3 separate regions of the Homo sapiens genome follow, and all the other regions are linked to region 3. Evidence: promoter capture Hi-C in 16 types of primary human blood cells and fetal thymus (Javierre and others, 2016). All regions are on one chromosome and are shown on one strand. The core of a region is centred on a gene start or on the middle of the fragment in contact, and the rest is flanking DNA. Distances in the headings are between cores, read along the strand shown.

What was found. Contacts are between HindIII fragments. The CHiCAGO score rates a contact against its expected background, and 5 or more counts as called.
Region 1: a contact is called between a fragment that was not itself captured here and the fragment with the promoter of NTM-AS3 in region 3, in 1 of 17 cell types (monocytes). The highest score is 5.5, in monocytes.
Region 2: a fragment that was not itself captured here is called in contact with the fragment with the promoter of NTM-AS3 in region 3 in 1 of 17 cell types (M0 macrophages); the score reaches 6.1 in M0 macrophages.

What each region holds. Positions count from the first base shown.
Region 1 is chr11:132,146,019-132,148,947 of GRCh38, reverse strand. NTM (neurotrimin) reads right to left here. Exons shown (of 9, transcript NM_001352005.2): 3 at 2,434-2,666. Among named protein-coding and RNA genes, the nearest start is that of NTM-IT, 140 kb to the left of the region's middle. The HindIII fragment of the contact is 6,073 bases long and covers 1-2,929 here.
Region 2 is chr11:132,118,240-132,121,078 of GRCh38, reverse strand. All of the region lies in intron 2 of NTM (neurotrimin), which reads right to left. Among named protein-coding and RNA genes, the nearest start is that of NTM-IT, 160 kb to the left of the region's middle. The HindIII fragment of the contact is 2,285 bases long and covers 213-2,497 here.
Region 3 is chr11:131,895,756-131,898,653 of GRCh38, reverse strand. NTM-AS3 (NTM antisense RNA 3) reads left to right here and starts at 1,321. Exons shown (of 2, transcript NR_199062.1): 1 at 1,321-1,629. The region is part of intron 1 of NTM (neurotrimin); the gene reads right to left. The HindIII fragment of the contact is 6,910 bases long and covers 1-2,898 here.

The sequences.
Region 1 (2,929 bases), core at 302-2,801, 250 kb before region 3:
GAGGTGGTGTGTCATGCGAGAGGGCACCTAGCTAAGTCACAGATGTAAACACCTAGCAAGGGATTAGACATTTTCCATTAGCTTGGATGTGAGTGAAGATTGATGTAGACTCCATCCTCTCACCCCCTCCCATCATCTCACCCCCAAAAACACCCAGCCGTCTCTCTTGGAGCCCATATAAGATCACCTGGCTCTAATTCTAGCCATTTGCTTCAATAAGCATTTATTAAATGTTCACTTTGTATCAGGCATTCTGCGAGGTGTTCAGGGCAGGGGTGTGGGGGTGTGTGTGAGTGGGGGTGGCTGAAGAAAGAAAATGACAAAAATATGATCCAGTTTTCAAGGAGACATTAGCACTTTTCACAATTCCTTCCACTTTCCAGTTCCATGAGGCCCTGCTTCCTAAAGCAAATATCTCTAATAGTTCCTAGTTCCCAGTCTCTCATTGTCAATGCTAGGCATTCTTTTCTCAACACTAAGTGTGCAGGGGTTGGGGCAGGACAGGAGGGGGGCTGAGCAATAGCTTCCAAACCACCACCTGGTAGAGTATGCAGATGGTGGCACCAGGGCATTCACCAGCCCTGCCCACAGAGTGGAGATTCTCAAGCATTTTTGGCCTCCCTATCCATAATAAAAAATGTATTTTACATTAAAAAATGTACACAAACTGAAACAAAAATCTCACATGGCAATACCTACTCCACTCTTTGTAATACACTCTGATACCTTCTATGCAATTCTATTTTCTTTAAAATTGCTGTTTGCATGCATCAGTTCAAAAAGTATTCATTTATAGAATCATTTTTTAAACAGCCATTGTAATTTCCTTTGGGGAAGAAAGAGTAAGCAAAATATAATAAAAACTTGGCATGACCAAACTTGGGCCACAGCATCAAGGATTCCCATGTCCCCTGGCATACGTTCTGCCCACAGCCAGGTCCAGCATCACCTTGTTCTCATGTGTCCTCCTCTCAGTCCTGCTCACCCTGCCTCACTCAACAGTGCTGATCACGACCCAAGTTCCGCCTTCCCCTACTGTCAAACAGCAGGCCTCCCCTTCCTTCTTCCGGCTCACTTCAGTTCTTCCTTCTCAAGCTGCCTTCCTTCCTATTCTGTCTCTAACCAATCATCCCATAGTTCTTTACCCTTTTCTTGAACACACCGACAAGGGGACTGGTGGAAGGAGCCCCTAGGAGAGGAGTTTGTCACCCTGGAGCTACACGTCCCTGGTTGAAAGGGCCTCGGGATCAGCCTGGGAAAGGGCTCCAGCACTGGATCTGGCATGCCGCTGCTCAGGGGCTATACTGCTGACATCACAAAATAAGATATTTGACCCACTGTAAAAGATGCTCAAAAATTTTAAAAATTACAAAAGTCCTAAAAAAGAGAAAAGAAAGCTCCATAGCTAACACTGAAATAGCACTTGTATGTGCCACGCCCTCTTCTACGTGTTTTCTATGTCAGTACGTTTACAGTTCAATCCTCACGTTGACCCCCTTTACAGAAAGAGAACCCTGAGACACGGTAATAACTTGATTAAGGTCTCACAGCCAGAAAGTGGCCAAGTGTGATGCCAGCTCTTGCTCACTAACTAGGAATCCTTCAACCGGGTTAAGTGTTGTCTGAATGCCCCAGGACTGGTTCTGCCTTGTGGGAAGAGGTGAGCTCCATTCCCAGGGTCTAAGAGAGCATAACCAACACACATATTCTCTCTCTCTCTCTCTCTCTCTCTCACACACACACACACACACACACACACACACACACACACAAACATACAAGGCCTCATGAACTAGGAGTCAGGGGAGGAGAAGAAGGCCAGGAGAGTTGGGATGGAATCAAAACAGGGAGAATCAGACACCAGTATTATATGGGAGAAATGGCATCCAAAACCCCTGGCTGGGAGAGGAGAGGAGGCGCAAGTGAGCTGGAAACAAGCAGGTGCTTGTGAAGGATGCAGCTGAGGGCAGTGCCCAGTGCATCCTGGTTGGCTCTGCTTTCGTTCAAGGCTGGAGGGGGACATGGCATACCTGTACTTCCAAAAGTGCATTAAAAGTCTGGTTTTAAACATAACACAGTCTTGGAATTGGATGAAATCTAAAAAACAAAACAAAACAAAACAAAAAACAAACAAACAAAAATAACTAAAACTTAGGGGAGAAAAAAGCCAAGAAGAGCAATAATTACAAGATAATTTCCTGAGAAAATATATTATTGGAACAAAAATGAAAAAAACAATTCCTAGTTCCACTCAATGAAAATGACTGGAAAATTTAGCTTCTAACTGCAAAATGACAACCAGAAATGTGCCCTGGACCCCAGATGCGTAGAATAAGGATAACTCATCTCTGTTGAGGATCAGAGAACAAACCTTTACCTGAAGGCTTTCCAGGCTGGCCAGCCAGATCTCCCCGCCAAGCCCCGCCCACCTACCTTGCACAATGAGGTGGACCCTAGAGGTCTTTGGGTGGTTGTCTGTCTGCACCGAGCAGGTGTAAGGGCCCTCGTCATACACATCCACGTTCTGGATCTCGATGCTGTACTGCGTTTGGGTGTTGCTCAGAAGGACCACGCGAGGATCCAGGCACCACTTGTCATTCCCAGCATAGAGGATGGTGCTGCGGTTTAGCCAGGCCACCCGGGTGACCCGGTTGTCAATAGTGCACCTGAAGGGAAGACCAGACAGGTACGTCAAGGGACTGAGAGACGACAGCAGCCATCAGAGGGAGGTCCTCATGGCAAGGCTAGAATATCTTGTCTTTCTCCCTTCCCCCAACACATACATTTCCTTTGATTTGTCAGGGGTGGACTTTTCTGGAACACAGCAAAGGTCTTATGGGATTACAGCCTCAGAATGTTGCTCGGAGCTTCTCAAACCACTTGAGCACAGAACCACTTCAAATACGATCTCAGTTATAACCTAGAGGTA
Region 2 (2,839 bases), core at 106-2,605, 220 kb before region 3:
CTGCAAACTTTGAGGAGAGTTAAACCAGATGAGCATATCAAGGTGACCACTGGACATATTTTGATAGCAGAAAAAGGCATTACAATGATTAATTCAAGATATTAGATCATGGAAAAATCACGAGTGTACGTGCTCTCTCTCTCTCAAACATACACACACACGCACTCCCCACAAAATACATTCCATCCCACCTCTTCCAGCAGAGCTAAGCTTGCAGCAGCCTATGCATACTCTACCAAGAGGCACCTTGGGGTTCAGACGACAAATAAACTGTACAGTAGATTCCACATCCACGGAGAATCTAGAAAAGGACGCTAAGCTCTCTTTTCTTGCTATTGGCATATCTCTCTCTGGGGACTCCTGTGGATATTAACGCCTACTAATCCTTGCAGAACCCTAAGCAGGGAGGCAAATACTATTCTATGCCTACTACCAGATGAAGAAAGAAAGGAGCCAGCAACATAGATGATTTATCCAATGTGGTTTACAGATTTGGTCTTCAAAAGAGGTCCTATTCTTTATATGGAGTGATTCAAAATTTAATCATTGGTCATAGTCTGGTCCCTCTTTTGCCCACAGCAAAGACACTGTCTCTTGCAACCTTAGAGGAGGAAATAAAAGCCATTAGCTGGGTCTAAAGTGTCTCAGGCCACTGTTTTTAGGGAGACCTAAACTCAGTCGGGTAAACTGAGTTTTGTCACCCCTCACTCTCATTCTTTTCCCTTTTCTCTTCTTCAAATTTCTAAGTCTACCAACTCCTGGGAAGAGCAGAAACATTCTGGCATTCTCTCAAAAATCTTGGTCCCATATATTGAGAGACTGTAGCAATACAACGTCTACATTTGAAGGAGCCATGAGCTCTGATCAGTTTTAAAGCCAGAGCTGCTCAACATGTGCAGAAAGAAAATAGCAACATAAACAGGAGGAAACAAAGACAAGAACTAAAAAAAAAAAATCATCAGCCGAGCTGTAGAACCAAGCTGTGACTGGGAGGGAAGGCAAGCGGGGGGCTCAGACGGGGGTCCTGATTCGCGTGCAATAGAGAATGCCCAGAATCGCATTCTTCTGAGATTTGTCAATTTCCCTTCTCTCTAGCTCTGATGGGGGCTTTTTACACCAGAACATATACTCTTTATATAGCGTGTTATAAATCTGCATCTCCCCAGGAGCTGATGCAAGGCAGCCATGCCATTCTCATGCTAGCCCTTGATGGGGACTCGGTCTAGACCAGTGGCACTGCTCTGCTGTGTGAACCCTAACCCAGCACTGCCTGTGCATTGCCAGGTGATTGCATTTCATTTAACAGCTCTGCCCTTCTGTAGCCTTGGTGCAGAAGGTCCCCAAAGCCCATCAGATATGGCTCTTTGGCAGAGAGGCGTGATGCCACGGGACCAGAAGACTGCCAGCTTATTTCCATTGTGACTGAAAATCCCATTTCAGCCTAGGATGGCAAAGGCAAACAATTTAATGCATTAACCTGCACTGACTCCTCACCCAGCTGCTTCCCGTCCTGATTGAACGGTAAGAAGGTTAATTATTCCCAGGCTCATCTTCAGACTTCACAGACCATATCATCACTGCTGGCAGGGGTGCCTGGTCTGGCTGAACCCAGGCTGTGGAGGCCGGTGGTGGTAATGGAATTGGCTGTTCCTGCTGCTGCGACCCCAGCTCCACTCTTTGATATCAGAAGGGTCAGTCATGATGTCAAGCGCACATGTCCCCATTCCAGGAGTACAAGGAGTGATGGTTTTTCTTACTGCACAGTGTGCTTTGGAAAATTTGCCCAACTGTAGCAGTGCACCCTTCAGCCATTGATGATCTCAGTAGACACCACTTGCAGGACGAGCACCTTCTCCTTACAAATCCAGTGTCCAGGGTGACCACAGAGCTACAGCCCTGGGGAGCTACAGCCTCTGGGAATAAGCTCCAGACACAGTAAGAAGTAGAGGAGACCGGCTGATGCCAATGTGGGGCACTGTCTGCCCAGGTCCCAGGGCCCAGAGCATGGGGGCCACCCATGGATGAGAGAACATCTTTTCATCCGCTGGAAACTGGAGAATGAGACAGAGAAAGAATGTGGCAGGCTGGGGGGAGAGGCGCTTCTACTATACACTATCTATCTCTACTCCTCCCCCTCCCAGCCCCTTCACCCCCTTGAGGACATCATCCTTAAAATATATTTCATTTCACAGCTGCATTATGGTACCACAAAATCCCGGGAATCCAATTTAAGAACAGATTACCTCCTCACTTACTTCATTTGAAGCAATTACATGTTAATTTTCATTGAAACCAGCCTAATGCATACCAATCTGACGCTGCGATCTCATTTGAATACGTAAGGGAACATCCAGAGAGTTTGGGGGTGCCAGAGATTTATATTTAAAGGGCCACTTCATCATTCCTTTTGTTGGTGGGCTCTCATCTATTTCTGGTACCCTTTCCGTGGCTCTTGAGGACAGAAGTTCTCTCATGGTGAAATAAGAGCAGATAAGCTTTCTCCAAAACAGCAGTAGCTGTCCTTGGAGAGGAAGCCCGTGTTCCGAGGTTTCTTTCTTCTCTCTGCCATTTATGTGCTGTGCGATTGCGATGAAAACACCTCCACCTTGCTTTATCTTCCTTGCAAAGTCAAGATTTATTCTCTGCCATCTGCACAGGAGAGATGCAATGCCAAGTCCCAGCTTTTTCTCAGCCTCAATCCATGCTCAGCCCTCTCAAATTGTTGATTACCATATATTGTATTCCCAACCATTCACCTAAGGAGGAAATAGCTTTCTAGACAAGCCTTGTGCATTGATTGCAGCCACTGGTAATTAATAATACTCAGGGACTTTGGAAT
Region 3 (2,898 bases), core at 72-2,571:
TTATTCAACAAGCATATCCTAGGGTAGGTGGCGTGTTACATCAGGGACTGTCATATCCTTGGTATCCAACCTCCATGGCTACAGACTGCTGGAAGAGATGAATGTTAGAAATAATTGCACAGATAATCAATGAATCACAATTGGAGTCAATACTACAAAGGGAATGTACACAATTTCAAAAGAACAGAAAAGGGGAGAGTGTCTTATTTATAATCACTCGATCTCAGCAAAGAACAGGTAAAACACATTCAATGATAAATGGGAGAAGAATTAATGAACGAATGAATAAACATGTAAAAAATATCTAGGCCTGTGCGTCTCAATGTTTTTCCACAAAGCCAGTTGGTCATACTTCCCCACAGGCAGACATCAGCACTGGTTCCCTTTCCTTCTTCTAAAAGGCAGTCATATTCCAGAGAACTGGCGTGCTTTCCCACATTCTTATTATTTATCAAACAAAAATAGAAGAGGTTTGTAAATCAGGTTATATAAACATTTCGAGCACAGTCATTCTGCTCTTAGGAGAGATAGCTAACCACACTCTCATAACAAATCCACTTTGATCCCAACATCCCACTTACGACCTCCTAGCACTCTCCATCCAAGAATAACATTAATAATAATCAGCCTATTAGCCAGGGTGCTTGGTTTGAATCCGAAATATTTGAGAAATGATCTTATAAATTATTTTCCAAGGATATCATCTTTAAGCATTAACAGGCACAACTGACACTGAATTCTGGGAATTGAGCATAATTACATGGAAATTGACACGACACAAATGCCAAGAATTCTGTTAACCTTTAATATCTTTTAAAAACTCTCCCCTCATAATTATCTCTTTCCTTTGTCTCAAATGTTACTGATGAATATTTAGAGGTATGAGCAAACAAAAAAAGTGGATGGATTGTGGAATATTGGTCTTTGTTTGGAATCCTAGAGTTTCCCAGGTGTTCCATCAAGAGGTGATAAATAGAATACTTGGAATTTGACTATTTTCAGAAGTTATTTCTACCTTTATATTTGCTCTACTCGAGTTTTCTGCTTATAATTTCCCATGCTGAGTAGAAGCTCCTTTGCATTAGTAATTACAGTAAAAGTGTAGTTCTAAGGCACTGGGTGTCTAACACAATTCCTGACCTGTGCTGTGTCTTTGCAAAAGTCATTGCACCTTTTCAGTGCTTCAGATACCATCTCTGTACAGTGAGTGTGATGACATTTAACTCCAACTGCAACAATATTTGCACAGTGATGTAAACTTTACCAAGGGCATTGCCAACCCTTTGCTCACTGGTAGATCAGTGCCTCTTAATTTTTTTCCTTCTTGCCAGTCTCCAATGCTACCACCAAGGCTCTCTTGCTTTTTTTCTTTCCCCTCTCTCTCTACTCTTTTAATTAAATCCTAACTCATCTCTCTGCTTCCAACCCTGCCTCTGCATTAGTCAGTGCTTCTTAACAGGGGCAGGGCACACTCCTTGGATTGTGGGAGTGGAAAATTGATTGGATATTGGTCACCACCATAATTGGAGAGGTACTGCTGCCGTTTAGTGTACAGAGGCCGCAGAGGTTAGAGACGCAGCAACGCATGGCTATTCAGCCACGGACGTCAAATGCCTGCCAGACATTTAGGTGAGTGAAACCTTTTTCTTTCAAAAATCTAAGCCTAGGCCGGGCGCGGTGGCTCACACCTGTAATCCCAGCACTTTGGGAGACCCAGGTGGGCGGATCACGAGGTCAGGAGATCGAGACCATCCTGGCTAACACAGTGAAAGCCCATCTCCAATAAAAATACAAAAAATTAGCCCGGCTTGGTGGCGGGCGCCTGTAGTCCCAGCTACTCCGGAGGCTGAGGCAGGAGAATGGCGTGAACCCGGGAGGCGGAGCTTGCAGTGAGCTGAGATCACACCACCGCACTCCAGCCTGGGCGACAGAGCCAGACTCCGTCTCAGAGAAAAAAAAAAAAAAAAAAAAAAAGCCTAAAATGTACTCCATTTGGCATGTAAACACAGATATTCTTGCCAGGTTTTAATATTCGCTAATTCTCCAGGAATGCAACTATCCTGCAAGTCAAAGAAAGACTGTGTTTGATTTGTTCACATCTTTACCAAGAAGTGTTCACTAGTTTGAAAAATCACGTACTCAGTGGGAATGTTTCTCATAATATTGAGTCATCAATTAATTCTACATCCTTGTAGCAGGTCTCTACTGTTGCTTAGCTGTCACATTCATGGTGATTCTGCATATAGACGCTTCCATACTTCATTATATCCTATGGGGTAGTTGTATCCAAATATTTATTTTACATTTATATTATTATCAATCATTTTCTATTTATTTCTCCTTCAGATTCAGTCAGACTTTATATAGGTCATTTTTTGAAGTATGTGATAGGTGTTATATGTTATCTGTGAACTTATTTTCTGCACAGTAATGAGGGTATTATAAAATATTTTCAATGATTTTTATGTTAGAAAAAGTTAAGAATAGCAGATGTACGGCATTTCACATGCAGAAGCCAGCTTTATCTTTCTCAGGCAGGGATCAGATGATGTCCTTTACTTATGTAGGAAGTTTCAGTGGCTCCCCCTGCCTATGACATAAAGACCCAACTCTTAAGACTGACAATCAAGAAGTATCCCAAGTTAATTAAATAGTGTTAGTCTTTGTTGTGGCCTCATTTTTGCACTCATGTAACATCCTAGGACCCAATCAACCTGGACTAGACGTTCTTCTTGGAAAGTTGCCCTGCATATCACAAACTGTGTAGATGCTCAGACTTTTGCTCTGCCAAGATGCCCTCCTACCATCCACAGCTTTCTAAATCCTATTCAGGTTTCAAGAACCAGTTCAGATTCTACTTCCTCCATGAAACATTAGTTTAACCAATGCTTCCCATGC